7 separate regions of the Homo sapiens genome follow, and regions 2, 3, 4, 5, 6 and 7 are each linked to region 1. Evidence: promoter capture Hi-C in 16 types of primary human blood cells and fetal thymus (Javierre and others, 2016). All regions are on one chromosome and are shown on one strand. The core of a region is centred on a gene start or on the middle of the fragment in contact, and the rest is flanking DNA. Distances in the headings are between cores, read along the strand shown.

The links. The method cuts DNA at HindIII sites, captures the fragments that hold promoters and counts their contacts. A CHiCAGO score of 5 or more calls a contact.
Region 2: a contact is called between a fragment that was not itself captured here and the fragment with the promoter of CCDC122 in region 1, in 14 of 17 cell types (monocytes, total CD8 T cells, naive CD4 T cells and 11 more). The highest score is 10.8, in monocytes.
Region 3: a contact is called between a fragment that was not itself captured here and the fragment with the promoter of CCDC122 in region 1, in 4 of 17 cell types (M1 macrophages, M0 macrophages, monocytes and 1 more). The highest score is 6.9, in M1 macrophages.
Region 4: the fragment with the promoter of DNAJC15 here is called in contact with the fragment with the promoter of CCDC122 in region 1 in 17 of 17 cell types (M2 macrophages, M1 macrophages, monocytes and 14 more); the score reaches 33.7 in M2 macrophages.
Region 5: a contact is called between a fragment that was not itself captured here and the fragment with the promoter of CCDC122 in region 1, in 2 of 17 cell types (monocytes and M1 macrophages). The highest score is 10.3, in monocytes.
Region 6: a contact is called between a fragment that was not itself captured here and the fragment with the promoter of CCDC122 in region 1, in 4 of 17 cell types (fetal thymus, activated CD4 T cells, naive B cells and 1 more). The highest score is 7.0, in fetal thymus.
Region 7: a contact is called between a fragment that was not itself captured here and the fragment with the promoter of CCDC122 in region 1, in 1 of 17 cell types (naive CD4 T cells). The highest score is 5.2, in naive CD4 T cells.

What each region holds. Positions count from the first base shown.
Region 1 is chr13:43,878,446-43,881,062 of GRCh38, forward strand. It overlaps CCDC122 (coiled-coil domain containing 122), which reads right to left and starts at 1,295. Exons shown (of 7, transcript NM_144974.5): 1 at 1,186-1,295. It overlaps LACC1 (laccase domain containing 1), which reads left to right and starts at 1,459. Exons shown (of 7, transcript NM_153218.4): 1 at 1,459-1,674; 2 at 2,507-2,617. The coding sequence starts at 2,541. RefSeq lists a silencer at 1,197-1,346. The HindIII fragment of the contact is 5,095 bases long and covers 1-2,617 here.
Region 2 is chr13:42,967,127-42,969,743 of GRCh38, forward strand. It overlaps EPSTI1 (epithelial stromal interaction 1), which reads right to left. Exons shown (of 11, transcript NM_033255.5): 3 at 1,968-2,051. Among named protein-coding and RNA genes, the nearest start is that of EPSTI1, 24 kb to the right of the region's middle. The HindIII fragment of the contact is 719 bases long and covers 952-1,670 here.
Region 3 is chr13:42,986,711-42,989,327 of GRCh38, forward strand. All of the region lies in intron 1 of EPSTI1 (epithelial stromal interaction 1), which reads right to left. Among named protein-coding and RNA genes, the nearest start is that of EPSTI1, 4.2 kb to the right of the region's middle. The HindIII fragment of the contact is 554 bases long and covers 1,040-1,593 here.
Region 4 is chr13:43,022,283-43,024,899 of GRCh38, forward strand. It overlaps DNAJC15 (DnaJ heat shock protein family (Hsp40) member C15), which reads left to right and starts at 1,304. Exons shown (of 6, transcript NM_013238.3): 1 at 1,304-1,452. The coding sequence starts at 1,345. RefSeq lists enhancers at 1,123-1,182, 1,193-1,242, 1,753-1,802. The HindIII fragment of the contact is 4,162 bases long and covers 494-2,617 here.
Region 5 is chr13:43,043,063-43,045,679 of GRCh38, forward strand. The region is part of intron 1 of DNAJC15 (DnaJ heat shock protein family (Hsp40) member C15); the gene reads left to right. Among named protein-coding and RNA genes, the nearest start is that of DNAJC15, 21 kb to the left of the region's middle. RefSeq lists an enhancer at 2,536-2,585. The HindIII fragment of the contact is 1,863 bases long and covers 352-2,214 here.
Region 6 is chr13:44,478,995-44,481,611 of GRCh38, forward strand. All of the region lies in intron 1 of TSC22D1 (TSC22 domain family member 1), which reads right to left. Among named protein-coding and RNA genes, the nearest start is that of TUSC8, 74 kb to the left of the region's middle. The HindIII fragment of the contact is 1,069 bases long and covers 792-1,860 here.
Region 7 is chr13:44,456,165-44,458,781 of GRCh38, forward strand. The region is part of intron 1 of TSC22D1 (TSC22 domain family member 1); the gene reads right to left. The region is part of intron 3 of LOC124903167 (a long non-coding RNA gene); the gene reads left to right. Among named protein-coding and RNA genes, the nearest start is that of TUSC8, 51 kb to the left of the region's middle. The HindIII fragment of the contact is 212 bases long and covers 1,227-1,438 here.

The DNA of each region.
Region 1 (2,617 bases), core at 45-2,544:
TCCCAGTCTCTAGTCAAGCACAAGAACATGCCTACCCCAGAGGGCTCTTCCAAATTCCCAGCTATCTGAGATTATGAGACAAAGGTTCTTTAGCGCCTACCAAATGAGCAACAATGAAGATAAAAGGGACCTCTCCTTCCATCATAACCAGTTCCCCAGGAAGCACCATTTCTCTTACTCTTGGAAGGTCGGATATTTTTTCCCTTTACCATACACTGGCCTTCCATGTCCTAACTGCTATTTTCAAATAAATGAACGTTATATTCTTGGAGGACAGATCAGGGATGCTAAACTGCACCTTTATCATGATTTTAGGGATGAGCGCCTTTTACTTAAGTCCTGCTAGTGGCACATATTTTAAAAGGCCATAGAGGACATCCGTGTTGTCAACACAAGTGAAGGCGCTCGGAAGAGTGTTGGTCAGCAAGAATCAGCACAAAGACATTGGAGGAGAGACAACAGCTTGTTTCTGGAAACAAATGAACAACAAAAAAACACTAAAACATCTCGAGGGGGCCCCTGACTTGAGCCCTGCATGGGAAAAGCTGCCAAGAGCTAGCATGACAAGGGACTGGCCCTGGGCTGCGGTGAGGAAACCCAGCGTCCTGACCACACTGCTGGGTCAGCGAGGCGTCCCTCAGAGACCGGAAACGCGGACTTCAGCTCGCTTGGGAAACGGCTTCCATTAGCAGAAGGGAGACTGCGGTTTAGTCCCGAGGTCGCTCCAGCAGCCCGGCCTCACGCGACCCACCATTCCCGCCGCCCCCTCACGGTGCCCGCCGTTCCCGCCGCCCGGCTTTCTAACCGGGCCCCTAGTTCCCCGCCCCGTGCCCTCTGGAGACCTGCAGCTCCTGCCGCCCTGCGCCCGCTCCCAGGGCCCGTCGTTCCGCCGCCCTATCCCTCCTCAAGGGGCCCCTAGCTGCCTCCTCGCGACCCTTTCCGGACTCGGCCTGCCCACTCCTGCCCGCTAACCCGCCTGGCTCCCGGGCGAGAGCCCTCGCGCGGCTCTGGTTCCTGTTCCTCTAACGCCGCCGGGGCTGCGGGATGCCGACTCCGCGGACCGCCCAGACCCGGAACTGCTGAGGCAGCAGCGGGCTCGCGGCGCTTGGCTCATCCCGGGATTCCCCAGCTCTCGCGCTGGGCCCGCCGCGTTCGCACCAAGCACGCCAGGCGGCCCTGGCCTACCTCCCTCCCGCCTCCCGGCAGCTGGCACGAGGGAACCTGGCCGTCAGGTTTCCCCTGGGATCCTGGGACGGTATCAGGCGGGGAATCTGTGCGGCCGCGGCGAGGTAGGTGAGGTGAGGCGGGGCGAGGTGGGCGAGGGGGGCGAGGTGAGGCGGGGCGAGGCGGGGCGAGGCGAGGCGGGGCGAGGTGGGCGAGGTGGGCGAGGTGAGGCGGGGCGGGTGTCGTCGCGCTGGGCCGAGCTTACGACTCCAGCTGACCCGCTCGCGGCTGCCCAATTTCGTTGAGGCTCAGGACGAGGGACGGGGCGGCAAATTGTCACAGAGGTCGCCGTAGACCGGTGTGCAACCGAAGGTGAAGAGCGGGAAGGCGAGGACCGAATCGCCTCTGGTGTGCGTTGTCCGACAGGAAGTCCCGAATGGGCTGTGAGCCGCCGGTGGAGGTGCCCGGGCAGGTGCAGAGCCACAGCCTGCGCCCCGTGAGCCGAGGCGGGTAGGAGGAACAGGGACCTGGCGGCGACACACGTTGGGCGGAAATTCACAATGAACAGGGAAGGGGGGACGGTCACCCACTCAAAACTGGCTAAATGAACCTCAGAGGGAGCCCCGAGAGATGGGGAGCAAAGGTTAGGGGAAGCGGCAGGAGAAAACCTTCTTGGGGCAAAGGGCGTCACCAAAGGGGGTCACCGGAGCCCCGCAGGTTGGGGTGGGAGGGCTGGGCTGGAGGTGAGCAAAGCTGCACGGGGAGAATGAATTAAGAAAGTTGAGAGGAAGCCTGTCTCATCCAAATCACTATAGCTTTTGTGGTCATTGCTAAGTGTGGAGTACTGCGCAAATCCTGAAGGGAACTCTATTAGCCATCTCAGCTTTTATCATCTTAAAACGCGAATTTCGCGTGCAGCTCCATTTAGCTTCGTAAACTTAAGCCCCCGCATATGAAAGGATGAGACCTAATATGACAATCATGTCAGGACTAATGATATATCACACAGGTTGACACTCTGCAATTTAAAAACAGGACTTTGTCTAAACTCCACAAGTAATTCCTTACTCAAAAGTTCTGTGTAAACAAAACAGAGGAACTGTCGTGCTGCTGGAAAGATGTACCAGCATTTTCACAAAACGAATTAAAAGATGGCTTTGCTTTCACTGTCATGGTTCTGTTGTGACAGAGTAGACTGGCTTTTCTGGGAGGGGCCTAGATTTACTATTTTAGTTACATTTTAAAATCAGTGTAATTACTTCGTTTTTAATCTACCACAAATTTCTGTTGTAACTATAAGATTTATATAATCTTATATTCTTACACTAATTTTTATTTGCAGGTGATTTATTTGGCATAAAAGTATTCTTTCAAGGATGGCAGAAGCTGTTTTGATTGATCTTTTTGGTTTGAAATTGAACTCTCAAAAAAACTGCCATCAGACATTACTGAA
Region 2 (2,617 bases), core at 61-2,560, 910 kb before region 1:
GGGACACAAACACTGCGGAAGGCCGCAGGGTCCTCTGCCTAGGAAAACCAGAGACCTTTGTTCACTTGTTTATCTGCTGACCTTCCCTCCACTATTGTCCCATGACCCTGCCAAATCCCCCTCTGTGAGAAACACCCAAGAATTATCAATAAAAAAATAAATTAAAAAAAAAAAAAAAAAAAAAAGAAAATCAGCTGGAGACCTCAACCTGCATTTTTAAGAGTCTGAGGGTCTTATTGGATTCATGCCTAGAACAGTTAGAGCCTAAAGGTATAAGGCTGTTGTCCATTGGCCACTGAGATGAGTCCTCAAGAAGAGGTAGCTACATTACAAATGGCCCACATTCACAGTTTATGAAAAGAAAGAATGCACAAGTATTTCCTGTACTTTTAATGTGATTCTCATGAAAGAGAATGCCAACCTAAAGCCATCTAAAGGGACTTGCCTATGAGGGCCATGTCAAGAACAATGGAACCCTAAAAGGAGTCTACCAAGAGCCAACAGTGAGGCCAAGCCCTGCCGACAGGAGAGGAAATCGTCTGTATCAGGGAAATCCAGGTGGGAGATGGGTAGCAGAGAGTGGGGGATGCTGAAAAACTCGAAGATTCCCAGGAAGAAGAACGAGCAGTCAGTGTAAACCTAGGCTCAAAGAAACAAGGATCACTGCATTACGAACCCCGAACTCTCTTATCTCCCTCCACTTCCCCCTTCAATCCCAGAAAGGTCAGAATCTGGGAACAGAGCCATGAATAGAGAAAAGTCCAGCCACACCCTGTTCTACTTGCTGGATTCCTACCTGAAACAGGCCTGGGTTAGAGCAGGGGAGAAGCTCTCATCTCCATTAGTAACAGAATTTTGATCAGTACCTAAGACTGAACATTAATTACTGAAATGAGACTGTTTTAGGCCTAGAATTAGCTAGGTCACTCTACTGTTTGAAAGAGACCAAAAAGCTTTAATTTCTTACATCATCCAAAAAGCCTGAGAAAGACTGTTCTCACATAGCCAATCTCAGGGGCCAAGCTAGGAAAGATTAAAGCTGTTTTCTGATTGTACCCTTCGAGTCTGGCTCATTTGCACAAAGGAGGCACTTGAGATTAGCCCTTTTCACGAAATACAGTGGGATGATGATAATATTACTATTACTTCCTCCCATTAAATAATTTCCAAATTAGATTATTTTTACCTATGTTCTTGGTGGGGGGGCAGGGTGTGGGGAGGGAACTTCTCTAAAACTATCACAACCGTAAGTGGCCCCTGACACAAGACATGCTTGTATTAACTAAATCTGTGGACACTGTGTGTCCAACCCTTTAAATTTTCGGCTGCTGATAGAAGAGAAAAAGCAAAGAAAAGATGTGAATGATTCCCATTAGGTGGCATCCCTTCTGAATGATTCAAACACCGGCAAAGGCGGCCCAGACAATTCATCACACTGGCAGCACCTGCTCCAGAGGCCCAGAGGTCTCTATCTGTAGAATAAAAACACAGGTGATGTTTCTCTTATACCCACCACCGGGTTTCCAGCTCACTCTCATCTCCCTCTTGGAACTGACTCTCCACTCCTTTTCTTCAGATTAACATTTAACTGCCATGATTAATATGCTTGTGCCAGCATTTACTCCCATCCTGACTAGTGCTATGACAGGGCATATGCAGCGCCCCAGGTAAGCTTTTTCAGAGTCAATCATCTAAGAGGCTCTAAATTATTTGGCAATTAAGCCATCACTGTGTTCCCATAGAACTCTGGCATTACAGGTTTGCTACTTGCAGAAAATCAGAAAAAAAAAAAAATACACACACACACACACACACACACACACACACAATTAAATGCATTCCACCCAAGCAGCACAATGACCAAACAAACTACAATGGACATTCACAGACAGACATATGCAAGCTGCTTACAGGATCCATAGGTGGCCCCGCCCTCCCTCATTCCGGCAGCGGCTGTGCTTGCTTACCTAGCCGTCTGGGCACCAGGTGAACCGGTTTAGCTCTGTTCTGCTCCTTCCACTTCTCCAGGTTGGCCAGCTCCTGCTCCGCAACTAAGCCAGGCGAGAAATATCAAATCGTCAATTATTAGACTTCTAAAAGAAAACCAGTCCCTTCAAAGCATAAGAAACAACTATTAGAAGGCAATTAACTATATGTGAGCATGAGTGAACAAGGCTTCCAGGTTAGAAACACAATATTCAGCCCTGACCCGTACAGGTCATCCTGGGCCCGGCCCTGTGGCACATTCTCACCAAGAGTCAGCACAGAGGGTTCGAATTTGAAAAACCACCTGGGCTCCTACTAAAAGAAGTATAGATTTTCCTACCATTCTGGCATTTTTAAAACTCTATATCAAGTTAATTTTTAAAGTTACCTATAGAAAATGTGTGCAAAACTAGAATATTTTCACGTCAATAAGAACTTTCCACACATAGGTAAACATATCCCCAGAGAATTCTGATGCCCATACTCGCTTTATCTTCAATGCTCCCAAGCTTACTGCGACTCTAGGGAATGAGGGCTCGGTGCTACAGGTGGAGACCCTTGCTCTGGTTTCAGGCACTCCAGACCACTGTGCAGAGTCGGCTTCCTGGGGAGCAGGGCTCATTTCCTAAAT
Region 3 (2,617 bases), core at 67-2,566, 890 kb before region 1:
CTACAGCCTGGGTGACACAGCAAGATTCCATCTCAAAAAAAAAAAAAAAAAAAAAAAAAAACAACTTGCAGCCCCATCTCAGTTTCTGGGGAGAGGCGGGGGCTGGAGATTTAATCACCAATGGCCACTGATTTAATCAATTATGCCTAGGTAATAAAGCCTCAATAAAAGTTCTTGAACTATAAGGTTTGGGGGTCTTCCAGGTTGGCGAACACATCAAAGTATCTACCTAGAGTATGGAAACTCTTCACACCCCACCACCTACCCCTTCATCTCCCAAAAGATGCCTTACGCATCTCTTCCACTTGACTGAGTTGTATCCTTTATGATAAACCTGTAATCATAAATATAGTAATTTCTGCGAGTTTTGTGAGTCACTCTAATGAATTATCAAAACTGGGGAAGGGGAGATGCATGGGAACCCCCAACTTTGTAGTCTGGTGGGTAGACATACAGGTAGCCTGGAGACTCCATTTGCAGCTAGTGTCTGAAGTCTGAAGTGGGGGGCAGTTTTGTGGGACTGAGCCCTTAATTTGTGGGGTCCACACTAACTCTGAGTAGTTAGTGTTAGAATTGAACTGTGGGACACCTAGTTGGGGTCACAGTTAGTTGGTGTTAGAATGACATATTTGATGTCAGGAAAAAAAAAACCACACAACTCCTAATGATCCTGTAGACCAAAGCTCAAACGTCACCTCTAAGGAAAGATCTTCCTGCTCCCAAGACCAGCTGAGACCCCAGCTTTCCTTGCAAGCTTGTCCAGCCCAGGGCCCACAAGGTGCATGTAGCCCAGGTGGCTCAGGATGGCTTTGAATGTGGCCCAACACAAATTCATAAACTTTCTTAAAACATTGAGGTTTTTTTGCGATTTTTTTTTTAAGCTCATCCACTATGATTAGTGTTAGTGTATTTTGTGTGGGGCCAAGACGATTCTTCTTCCCATGTGGCCCCAGGAAGCCAAAAGATTGGATACCCCTGCTTTAAAGTATACATATTTGTTCACATATTAATAAATGTCTGTCCCATCAATTAGACAGTAAGCTTCATAAGGGCTTATTTTGTGTTGAATAGTTATTTGTTCCTAGTTTTTAATTAGTTCTTTTAAGCTAGAGATCCTCTCATTCCATGGTGGTTATGAGGATTGAAAGAGTTAGTATACATAGTGTGCATTTACATACTAGCTACTACGTAAGTGCTATTATTATTATTGCTCATGTTGAAGTCTCTACAATACTAATACGAAGTAGGCCACAAAAATGTTAAGATTAACATAATTTACATACAAATTCAGCTCAAGTTAACTGTAAAATAAAATTCCATATTATAGGTTCATTTTCAAAATATATTTTTATTTTCTTCAAACAGCATCAAGCTAAAGGACCAGGTATGGTTAGACAAGTACATGAATGTGAATTCAACCCTATATTACCAGCACAGGCAAGACCCCATTTCCCAGAATTGGATAAAACTAGGTAAATGCATGTCTTTGTCTTATATTTATCTAGAGGTGATATAAATAATGTAAAATATTTACAAACAAGCAGAATATTAAAAGGAAGGATAAAGGTTTACTTTGGATTAGAAGTTTGTGTAAGCTTTTTTCTCTTTTAATTTGTGTAGACAGCTTTGATATTTAAGGACAAGACAAAAATCACCAAGTAAAAATAATTGGGAAAGCCAGTATGAATTAGTAAATACTTATAATAACTTAAATCCAAATTCCATCAAGAACTCAATCTTGGCCAGGCGCGGTGGCTCACGCCTGTAATCCCAGCACTTTGGGAGGCCGAGGCAGGCAGATCACAAGGTCAGGAGTTTGAGACCGGCCTGGCCAATGTGGCGAAACCCCGTCTCTACTAAAAATACGAAAATTAGCCAGGCATGGTGGCATGTGCCTGTGGTACCAGCTGCTCAGGAGGCTGAGGCAGAGGAGTCGCTTGAACACGGGAGGCAGAGGTTGTGGTGAGCTGAGATTGCGCTGTTGCACTCCAGCCTGAGCGACAGAGCGAGACTCTGTCTCAAAAAAAAAAAAAAAGAACTCAATCTTGTCTGAGAGTCTATCAGAGGTACTCAGAATAATTTAATATATTGATAGCCACAGATTTTTACTAGTATACTTTCTTTCTATGCAAATAGGTGGTTTATTTATTTATTTATTTATTTATTTGAGACAGGGTCTCACTCTGTTGCCCAGGCTGGAGTACAGTGGTACAATCACAGCTCACTGTAGTCTTGGAGCTCCTGAGCTCAAGCTATCCTCCTGCCTCAGCCTCTTGAGTAGCTGGGACAGAGGTATGTGCCACCGTGCCCAGATAATTTAAATTTTTTTTTTTTTTTTTTTTTTTTTGGAGAGACAAGGGACTCCCTATGTTACTCCTGGACTAAAGCAATCCTCCCACATTGGCTTTCCAAAGTGCTGAGGTTACAGGCACAAGCCCCTGCGCCCGACCACAAGTAGGTGTTTTAAACCAGTGTTTTTTTTTAACAAGGCACAAACATTCGACTTAAGGGTGACAGCATAGTACTTTACCAGGAATAAAGTTATGTTTTACACATATACACGTGGAAAAATTAAAACCCTATGAAGTTGGTATTGTCTTATATTAAGTAATGAGGA
Region 4 (2,617 bases), core at 54-2,553, 860 kb before region 1:
ATTTCTAGGACCTAACTTCTTAGACATGCTAATAATATTAACTAAGTGAACAAATTAATAGACCCTCAAAACTTTAAATTCAGGAATAGAAAAAAAATAAAGCTTTTTCTTCCTGTCAGCTGATTTTGCAAAGGGTATAAGGAGCCAAAGAGCTGCCACGTTGGTACAGAAGTTGGAAAACACCATACGCTTCAACTGCTGGTTAATTTTTGCTCTAAAAACTTGATGGAGGCCAGGCGCGGTGACTCACGCCTGTAATCTCAGCACTTTGGGAGGCTGAAGCGGGCGGATCACCTGAGGTCAGGAGTTTGAGACCAGCCTGGCCAACATGGTGAAACCTCGTCTCTACTAAAAATACACAAATTAGCCAGGTGTGGTGGCACGTGCCTTTAATCCCAGGTACTCGGGAGGCAGAGGGTGCAGTGAGCCAGAGATTGCGCCACTGCACTCAGCCTGGGCAACAGAGCGAGACTCCATCTCAAAAAAAAAAAAAAGCTTAATAATAAAATGGGCTTTTATATATACAAATCAGCACAAACTCATTTGAGGGAGAGTAAGATTTACCTACTTGCTCACAACTTTTTTTCCCCTGCCTCAGGCTCCTGAGTAGCTGGGATTACAGGGACGCACCACCACACCCAGCTAATCTTTGTATTTTTAGTAGAGACGAGGTTTCACCATGTCGGCCAAGCTGGTGTGATCCACCCGCCTCGGTCTCCCAAAGTGCTGGGATTACAGCGTGAGCCACCGCACCCGGCCACAACTTTCTTCTGTGTAATTTCACCTTAAATACAGCCATTTACTTGGGGGTGGAGTAAGCAAATTGCCTCTTTAATTTCTCTCCCGGGGTGGTAGAACTGTGGCATTAAACAGAAGTGCGAACAGAAGTTGAGAGTGGGAAGAAAGGCTGCCCGGAAGGGGGTCAGGAAAGCTCAGGCAAGCCCACCCTCAGGCACTACAGCTAGACTCCGAGCTTACTGGGCAGTCATCTGATTCGACCAACATCAGTTCGCAGGGCTTAAGCCCAGTCCCTTACGGCGGCCTGGGGAGGGACCAGGCCCAAGTATATAAAGCTCCCTGAGGGTCCGCGTTGGCTTTGCGCCTGTGAGTGTGATTCAAGAACGTCCCAGTGCCCTTGGCTCCTTTCGGAGTGTGACCCCGTGCTTGCACGGGACACGTTACCCAGCTCGGGTGAGAAGGGTATCTTCCGGGAACCTCGCCTTTAATAGCACAACGAGCGCAGAGTCCACTGGATCTGCGAGAAGAAACCGCGCTAACTAGTTTGTCCCTACGGCCGCCTCGTAGTCACTGCCGCGGCGCCTTGAGTCTCCGGGCCGCCTTGCCATGGCTGCCCGTGGTGTCATCGCTCCAGTTGGCGAGAGTTTGCGCTACGCTGAGTACTTGCAGCCCTCGGCCAAACGGCCAGACGCCGACGTCGACCAGCAGAGACTGGTGAGTCCTGCCAGCGGCCCCCACCCCTCTCTGGCTCCCTTGTAGTTTCTGCTTCAGCCCCCTCTACCGCCTCACCCTTGAACCTTTGTACTCCCCCGCATTCGCTCACGGTCTGTGCCCTAGCGCTCACTTGTTCAGTGGAGAGACCGCTTTGTGCTGGGCTTTGACGCCTGGGCGTGGAAGACGGAGCAGTTCTGAGGATCTGTCTCCTCAAGGAGCTTCCAGTCTTGTCTGGGACACAAACCAGAAAACAGGCAATTGCAAATACAGTAAAATAAGTGCTGTATGTGGATTTTCCTATCTCATAGGAGGCCCTAAAAACGTCTTGCAGGGGACGTGGTGGGATCAGGGACGCTTCTTGGAGAAAGCTGTAGTTAAAAATTAAGATCTGAATGAATAAAAACAGTCCATTCAGCAAGGAGAAGGGGAAAAAGTGTTTCGGGTACCAGGACTACTGTCTCCAAAGTCTCCGGCACAGAAACAGGGCCCAGTTGGAAACTCCAAGTGGTGTATTCAGGATGAACTGTAGAGCTGGAAAAAGGAAGGGTCTAACAGAAAACTGTCCAACAGAAGCATATTGTGAGCCACATACGTATTTTTACGTTTTTTTTTTTTTTTTTTTTTTTTGAGACGGAGTCTCGCTCTGTCGCCCAGGCTGGAGTGCAGTGGCGCGATCTCGGCTCACTGCAAGCTCCGCCTCCCGGTTTCAGGCCATTCTCCTGCCTCAGCCTCCCAAGTAGCTGGGACTACAGGCGCCTGCCACCACTCCCGGCTAATTTTTTGTATTTTTAGTAGAGACGGGGGTTTCACCGTGTTAGCCAGGATGGTCTCGATCTGCTTACCTCGTGATCCGCCCGCCTCGGCCTCCCAAAGTGCTGGGATTACAGGCGTGAGCCACCGCGTCCGGCATATTTTTAAGTTTTTTGTAGCCATATTAAACAACTGAAGAGAAACAGGTGGGTTTGATTTTAACCATGTATTTTCTTTAACCTGATATATGCACAGTTGCATGGTAATTTTCAACATTCAATATGAAATATTGCCCAAGTGGTGGTTTAGGCTTGTAATCCCAGCGCTTTAGGAAGCCCAGGCAGGAGGATCACTTGAGGCCATGAGTTTGGAGGACAGCCTGGGCAACACAGGAGACCCCATCTCTGCTAAAAAA
Region 5 (2,617 bases), core at 33-2,532, 840 kb before region 1:
GACCAGTCACATTTATTCACATTTTGGTTTAAAAAAGCTGCTTTTTAAATTTGTTTATTTTTATTTTTTTGAAAGGCTCTGTCACTCAGGCCGGAGTCCAGTGGTATGATCTTGGCTCACTGCAAACCTCCGTCTCCCGGGTTCAAGCGAGTCTCCCCCCTCAGCCTCCCCAGTAGCTGGGACTACAGGCGTGTGCCACCACTCCCAGCTAATTTTTGTATTTTTAGTAGAGACGGGGTTTCACCATGTTGGCCAGACTGGTCTCGAACTCCTGACTCTCAGTTGATCTACCCGCCTTGGTCTCCCAAAGTGCTGGGATTACAGGCATGAGCTGCCATGCCTGACCTCAAAAGCTTCTTATATTATGAGAAAGTAGAGCCATGACTCACACTGTTATTTTGAGTAAATGCAAAACAGTACTTAAAAGATCATTCTTGTTATTATTTATTTACTTATTCTAGACCTTTTCTGACAGTGTGAAAAAGATTATTCTTAAAAAATCATTATCTATAGTGAAGATTTAACTTTGAGGAGTTTTTAATTATGCTGGAGAGTGGAGTAACATTCATTTGGGGTAAGCCTAAGAGTTTTGTTTCCTAACATGTTTGGCCTCTGATTTTGTTGTTTCGCCCTTTTATTTATTCACTAGTCTTGCTGTAGATACTAATGCTTGCCTGTGGTTTAAGAGAAATTAAGCAACTTAAAAACAGAGCAAATAGAAATGTAGTTAGCTTTGCCTTTCTTTTTTGCTTAATGTAAGGGTTTCGTGGGAATTGGTGTTTTGGGAGAAGTTCAAATGTATTTGCTTTTGGCAATGGAACAATAATGGTAAAGGTAGGGTGTCTTAATGTAGATTGGTTCAATTTAGATATGAAAGTCTGAAATTTATATTGGCTTGAAGATTTTAGGGCAGGATAATTTTATAAATTCTCGTTATTGTCATTTTATTGTGTCTGACACTTTTTCTTGAATGTAAATTCTCCTCCCCTCCTTATTCTAATCTGCATGTATAATACCTCTTTTACCCAAATTATATTGATTTGCCAGCAGTCTTTCTTGTTTCCTCTCTTTTTTTCTCCTTTCCACTTGCTGTTGTTTAAATTCAAAGAGTTTTCTTTGTGGAGACTGAACCTAATAGTAAGACAGCATAAAACACTGAGTTCAGCAGAAAGTGATTTGCTTGTGATTAACCCTTGAGAATTAACTCACTGCAAGATAACAAAGAATGAATGTTTTCCAAACATCTGGCTCATTCTTCTTTTCCATTAGTAGATGAGACCTCTCCATTTACCCTCTAGGTGTTAGGAATTCTCATACTGTTTCACTTAGGCTTTATCATACTCGTCACGGCATATTGTTAGAAAGTAAGTCCAAAAGAGAGTTCATGACATACCCTTTCTCTGCCACAGACCTCTCACAGTCCTTGCAGCAAAAGGCAGTTAGTGTCATTCTTTTAGTTGTTCAAGACAATAACCTTGACTCTTCTCTTTTCCTTTTAGTTGCTCAAGACAACTAAAAGGTCCTTTTAGTTCCTTTTGGTTGCAAAGACTTTATTTTCTTTGTCTTCCGAGAGACTTTTGGATATATTTACCTGGTCCAGGGTATTTTGAAGCATGACCATATGTTAGATTCTTAATTACGTTTAACTAGCATTGTCCATTATATTTTCTCATTTCAAAACCTTGACTCCATATCCAGTGTCTCAGCAAATCCTATTGGCCTTACCTCCGAACTCTATCTAGTATCTCACCACTTTCCTCATTTCCATCATTAATCGCTGTAGCCCAAGTGACCATTATCTCTTTCATGGATTATTTTAATAGACTTACAACTCATCCCCATGCCTCTGCTTTTCATCCTCTACAATCTATTCTCAACATGACAAGTAGAATGATCCTTAGAATTTTAATTGAAATAATCTTAGGCCTCTGCTCAAAACAATGATGTACTGTATCACTCGGAGAAAAGCTAGTCTTTATGTTGACCATATAAGGCCCAGCATGATCTGCTCCCCTTGTGACCTGTTCGACCTTGTTGCCTATTTTTTTCTCTTTCTCTTCCTGCTGTATGCACACTGGCCTTCTGGCTATTCGTTAGGCACACTGGGCACACCTGTGCTTTAGGGACTTTACACTTGTTCCCATTGCTAGTCCAAAATCTAAGGAATCCTTTTTCTTGCTTTAATTTTTTTCCAAAAGTCATTTTTTTCAGTGAAGCTTGCCCTACTCACTTTAAATTTGTTGCTCTTGTAGCAGGACAAGCCGCAGGCAAAACCTCTCAGACATCGAGTTGTAGAAGGAAGGGCTTTATTCAGCTGGGAGCATCGGCAAGCTACTGTCTTAAAATCCAAGCTCCCCGAGTGCACAATTTCCGTCCCTTTTACGGGCACACAACACTAAAGATTTTATATGAAAGGGTTGTGATTGATTGAGCAATCTAGGGGATATGTGACGGGGTTTCATGCACTGGTAGTCAGAGTGAAACAGAACAGAGCAGGGAGTTTCACAATGTTCTTCCATACAATGCCTGAAATCTATGGGTAACATCGGGTTCTAAGTCATGAGTTGATTTTTAACTACTAGGTTTAGGCCATGCAGGCTCGGGCGTGGTTTTGGGC
Region 6 (2,617 bases), core at 76-2,575, 600 kb after region 1:
AAAGATTATAGGTCTCTGAATATTACTGAATAAAAAATATTAAGCCCTCTTACTTGGTCCTAGATGGCCCTAGGAGCAGATCCAATGAAATAAACTACACAAGAGTGACTGATACTAAAAAACACCAGAACTAGGTTATCTATGAATGGAAAATGCATCTGTGTATCTAGAATCAGCAACCCTAACCTTTAGCACACAGTCTAGAAACTTGAAGAATGAAAACCAACCTCTACACCAAGCTTGCCCAACCCACGGGCATGGCCCAGGACAGCTTTGAATGCGGCCTAACTCGTGAACTTTCTTAAAACAGTATGAGATCTTTCTGTGATTTTTTTTTTTTTTTTTTTAGCTCACCAGCTATCATTAGTGTTAGTGTATTTTACGTGCGGCCCAAGACAATTCTTCTTCCAGCGTGGCCCAGGGAAACCAAAAGATTGGACACCCCTACTCTAAACAGTTCAAAAAGCTCTCATAAAGCCACTGTACCAAAGCAATATACTGTGCTTTTAAGATCTTGTTAGAAAATTATTGACTTGTATATCGTATAATCCTTAAAACTTAATTATCTGGCTTCCTGGGTTTCAGGAAAGTAAAAGCAACTAAACAAAAATGGCAAGCTGTTACCAGCCACATACACCAGCATTCTCAAGAAGAGATAGCTTTCAACCTAATAAGACAAAAAGTAAGTACTGGCCACCAAATGAGACAACTCATCACCTGTATGCTAAATCTGAGTCACTAAGGACACACAGTCTTCTCAGAAGGTTAAAACAAGATTAGATAAAAGTTTAAGCTTCAATTTCTGTGTATCAAATACTCAAACCAATGAAAAATCAGGTAAATAAGTTGTTACTATTCAGAATCTACAGCATGCCATCCTATTATTTATTTAGGACTAAAATGGAAAAAGTCTATGATTCTAGGCTGGCCCTATCAAGGACTGCTGTATGAAAATTTTATTTCAAAAATAGCAGATGGAAGACACAGCTCTGTATTTAACAAACATGAAACTATTAAGCCACCATTTGAGAGCATTCAATGAATAAATACTGAGAAATATTAAATTTGAAAAATAGTGTTAATAACAAGACTGATAAGTTTGGATCTTTTTTTTAAATTGAATGTATAAGATGTGTACAAGTTCCAAAATGTTATCAACAGCACCTGAAAAAACTTTCCTTTAAATTGAGCAACTGTAAAAGACAAAGATCTTAAAAGTATTTCATTTTAATATAGCATGAATTTAACATTCATTAACATTAAAAAATTAAGATTGGAAAATCAATTTTCTTATGGTTTTGGCATTTTTTTAAGACAACAGGGTAATGCTATTAATTCCTTGGGAATTAGTGATTGCTGATAAATTCATTTTTACATATAAAAGTATTAGTTGAACACTTAATACTATAAAAATTGTAGGTGCCTGGGACATAAAGATTCTAATGAAAGAAATAGACATGAATCAAATAATTATAATATAGGAAATTCTCTCACAGATGAGAGATGAAGGCAGCAGCGATCCCAGGACCAGCTGTTGAGAATAAAGTAGAATTTAGGATGATGCAGGGTTTGGGCTTAAGGTAGAGTACATGTTGGTACTAGTAGCTGTGAGAGAATACAGGAGGGGTGGATTATGTGAAAACAGGAATAAATAAGAGGCTGTTTGGAGGAGACATCCAAGTAGATATGTTCACAGGGAAATTGAAGACACTCCAGACAACTCTAGAATTTCTACAAAGGAGTCCAGGGACAGGGGTTAGGAGACACTTCTTGAGGCCAAGTTTCCATACTAACCACACTCCTTTTACATAAATGTTTGTTTTTTGGTTGTTTTACATAGATTGTATGCTTACTCAGTGAAGCTTTCATGTGTAACAGGTCATAGAGATTATGGGGGGCTGCTGCCTACACCCTCTTCCCCTTGTGTTATGAGCGGCTGAATTGGGTTCCACAGATAAATTGGGTCGCTGGAGTACAAAGAAAACCTACTATAAAAAGAAGGGAGGCCAAGCAACAGAACCTAGGGAAACACCAACGTTTAAGAGAGCTGGGGAGAGAAGCCAAACAAATAGTAAATGAGACTGAAAAGGAGAAGGCCAAGAGACAGAAGGAGAACCAGAAGAGACTGGTGCACTGGAGCCAACAGAGGAGAACTTCAGGAAGTAACAGGCAGCAATGCCAAAGATACAGAGAGATCAAATGAGACAAGAAGGATGGAAATGGGATCCTCGGGGCTTGAGACTTCGCAGTTAGGAAGTCATTGGTGACATCTGCAGAAAAAGCTTGGGGTGGGAGGTGGTAAGGAAAAAGGAACAGCCACACCACAGCAGTGTAGATGAATGGGTAAAATGAGGAAGACAGGTAACTGGTGAGGGGTGGGTGGTTCTGGTTCACTTAGGTTGTCAATAAAGTGGAAAAGATTAAACAAGAGATGATATATCCTGATAAAGCAAAGTCCCAGAGAACACAGGAAGGAATGAGCTATTTACCATTTGACATAGAAATTTAAATTAGCGTGTGATGAGAACACTAGCCTCAGTCAGTGTAATAACTGTGATACAGACACTTTCATTTGTTCATTCAAATATTTACAAGCATCTACTATGCTCAGGAACAA
Region 7 (2,617 bases), core at 83-2,582, 580 kb after region 1:
GTAGTGCAGACCCAAAAAGTGAGCAGCAGCAAGATTTATCGCTAACAGTAAAACAACAAAGCTTCCACGGCGGAGAAGAAGACCCGAGCGGGTTGCTGCTGCTGGCTGGAGTAGCCAGCTTTTATTCCCTTATTTGGCCCTGCCCACATCCTGCTGATTGGTCCATTTTACAGAGCACTGATTGGTCCATTTTACAGAGTACCGATTGGTCTGTTTTTACAGAGTGCTGATTGGTGCGTTTACAAACCTTTAGCTAGACACAGAGCGCTGATTGGTCCATTTTTACAGAGTGCTGATTGGTGCGTTTACAAACCTTTAGCTAGACACAGAGCACTGATTGGTGCGTTTCCAATCCTTTACCTAGACAGAAAAGTTCTCCAAGTCCCCACCCGACCCAGAAGCCCAGCCGGCTTCACCTTTCACAATGACTAACAATTCTCTAGTATAGCCAACACTCAGTCAAAAGGAACCTAGAGGAAACAGAGACAGTGTAGGGAACTGAAGAAACTTGTAAAATCCTAAAAGATTACATGGATAAAATAAGAGGAGGACAACATTCAGAACACTAGAAAGAGCTCTTGGAAACTGAAAAATTGATATGAGAGCATAAGTGAAAATGTGCTAGAATAGAAAGTAAAGTTGAAGAACTATCTCAGAAACTAGAACAAAATACCAAAAAGGTTAATACAGGAAAGAAAATAAATAACAGCTATTAATATTTAGAAGGGCTAACACCCTAACAAAAGAAGTTTCAGAAATGTGCAATATGGACAGGAGAAAAGTGTCATAAAATAATTCAAGAAAACTTCCTAGAACTACAGATCAGGCTTTTTAAAATTAACAGAGCCTATCAAGTACAATCTGTTCCATTATAAAACTTGTTTGGAAAACACCAATTTGTTCCAACACAATTCATATGTTAGAGAACAATTTGAGCGTAATGCACATTTCACATTTGCTTATGTGTGATTTTGTTTGTGAGAAACATCAGGTGAACGCAGGAAACTGCACCCAGCTGAACCAAAACTGCACCTAGGAAAACGCAAACAGCACATATCTCAAACATGTAACAGCTACCTCAGTTCGGCACGTTTGTTACTCTGCAAAATTATGTTTTGCTATTCTTTCGCAAAGGATAACTTTTCTATATAAAAACACGCATTCAACATCTCAAATATGTCTAATCACACTGGATCAAAAACATCAAGCAGCATGCACAAAAGAAAAGCTTTTAAATATTGAGAAGCCAGAAATAAGGCATTTTGAAAGAAATGAGAGAATATGTGATGAGAACATGTGGTATCTCCCAAGCAACAGAAATAAAATTCATGTTGTGGGCCTTCACAAACAACGCATGGAAATAAAAGAAACGCCTATTGGTAAAGCAATTTCAAGGGCTGCAAAAAGAGCAACCCCTAAAGAAACAGAAGAAAAAGAAAGCTTGTTGAATATATGTACTGAAAAGCAAATAGCAAAAAAAAAAAAAAAAAAAAAGGAATACTTTTTCTCAGAATCAAAGAGAAAGCACTATTTATATAAAAAGGAAATCGCTAAATCCTGCAGAATTTGCTCCTTTTGTGCTAGCAGTGGCTGGTTTAGTAGTTTCAAAAATCTCTATGATTTCCAAAGCCTTCGGTTGTAGGGTGAAGCAGAGAGCTCACCTAAGAAAACTGCAAAAAGAATTTCCAGCAGTGATACAGAAGCTAACTGAAGAAGGTGGCTATATATTGGGTCAAACTTTCAATTCTGATGAAATAGTTATCTATTACACATACATCAGATCTGTCAACTGACACTGTTTCATATTCTTGGACAGAATTAGAAAACTAAGTTTCCAAGGATTTCAAAGTCTGCTCATATAAAAGTAGAACAAGTTCTAGGATCTACTTTCACTTTTGAAACAGATAGGTGAAATCTTTGAAGCCTTTCCAGTCACTATATTCTATCAAATCTGATCCTCCTAATTTCTCACTGTGATTCTATCAGCAAAAATTCTTAATGTTCTCTTAATAGTATGATCCTTTTCCTTTTTAATTCCAACTAAAGCATCATTTCCAAACAACCTTTGAAAGCATCTATGATGTTGTTTTAGCCATTTAAGTCCATAAATGCAATTATAAAACATCTTCATCAGTACTGACTTTAGTGCAGCTTTTTAAAGAGTCAGATTTTGAGCACTGGAGTTAGAGCCTAATTCAAATTTCCAAAAATCACTTATTCATAGTAAAATGGAAGTGATAATACATATTTCATAATGATGGCAACAGCAGCCCATCTAGAGCAGCCACTGCAAAGACGCTGGCTGCAGCTGGGGAGGCGCGGCGGGCATTGCAGGCTCCAGAGAGACAGCAAGGGCCAGGAACAGGCGGGAGCCCCACCCCCTACCAAGTTAGCAGGACAGAAGCCTGCACTCCCAGGCACAGCTGCAGCTGCCCAGCCGTACCTCCAGACCTGGGCATCCCTGTGCTCTCGGGGACCCAGGAAGCCCCACTTCCCCCACAGGCTTGGAAGGGCCCGATCCTGCTCTCTGGTCTCTCCCCACTCCCAGTGCCCGCTCTGATTTTGCAGCAAAGTTATGGCCAAGCCTGGGCGCTGTCCGACCAGGTGTGTGTGTGCG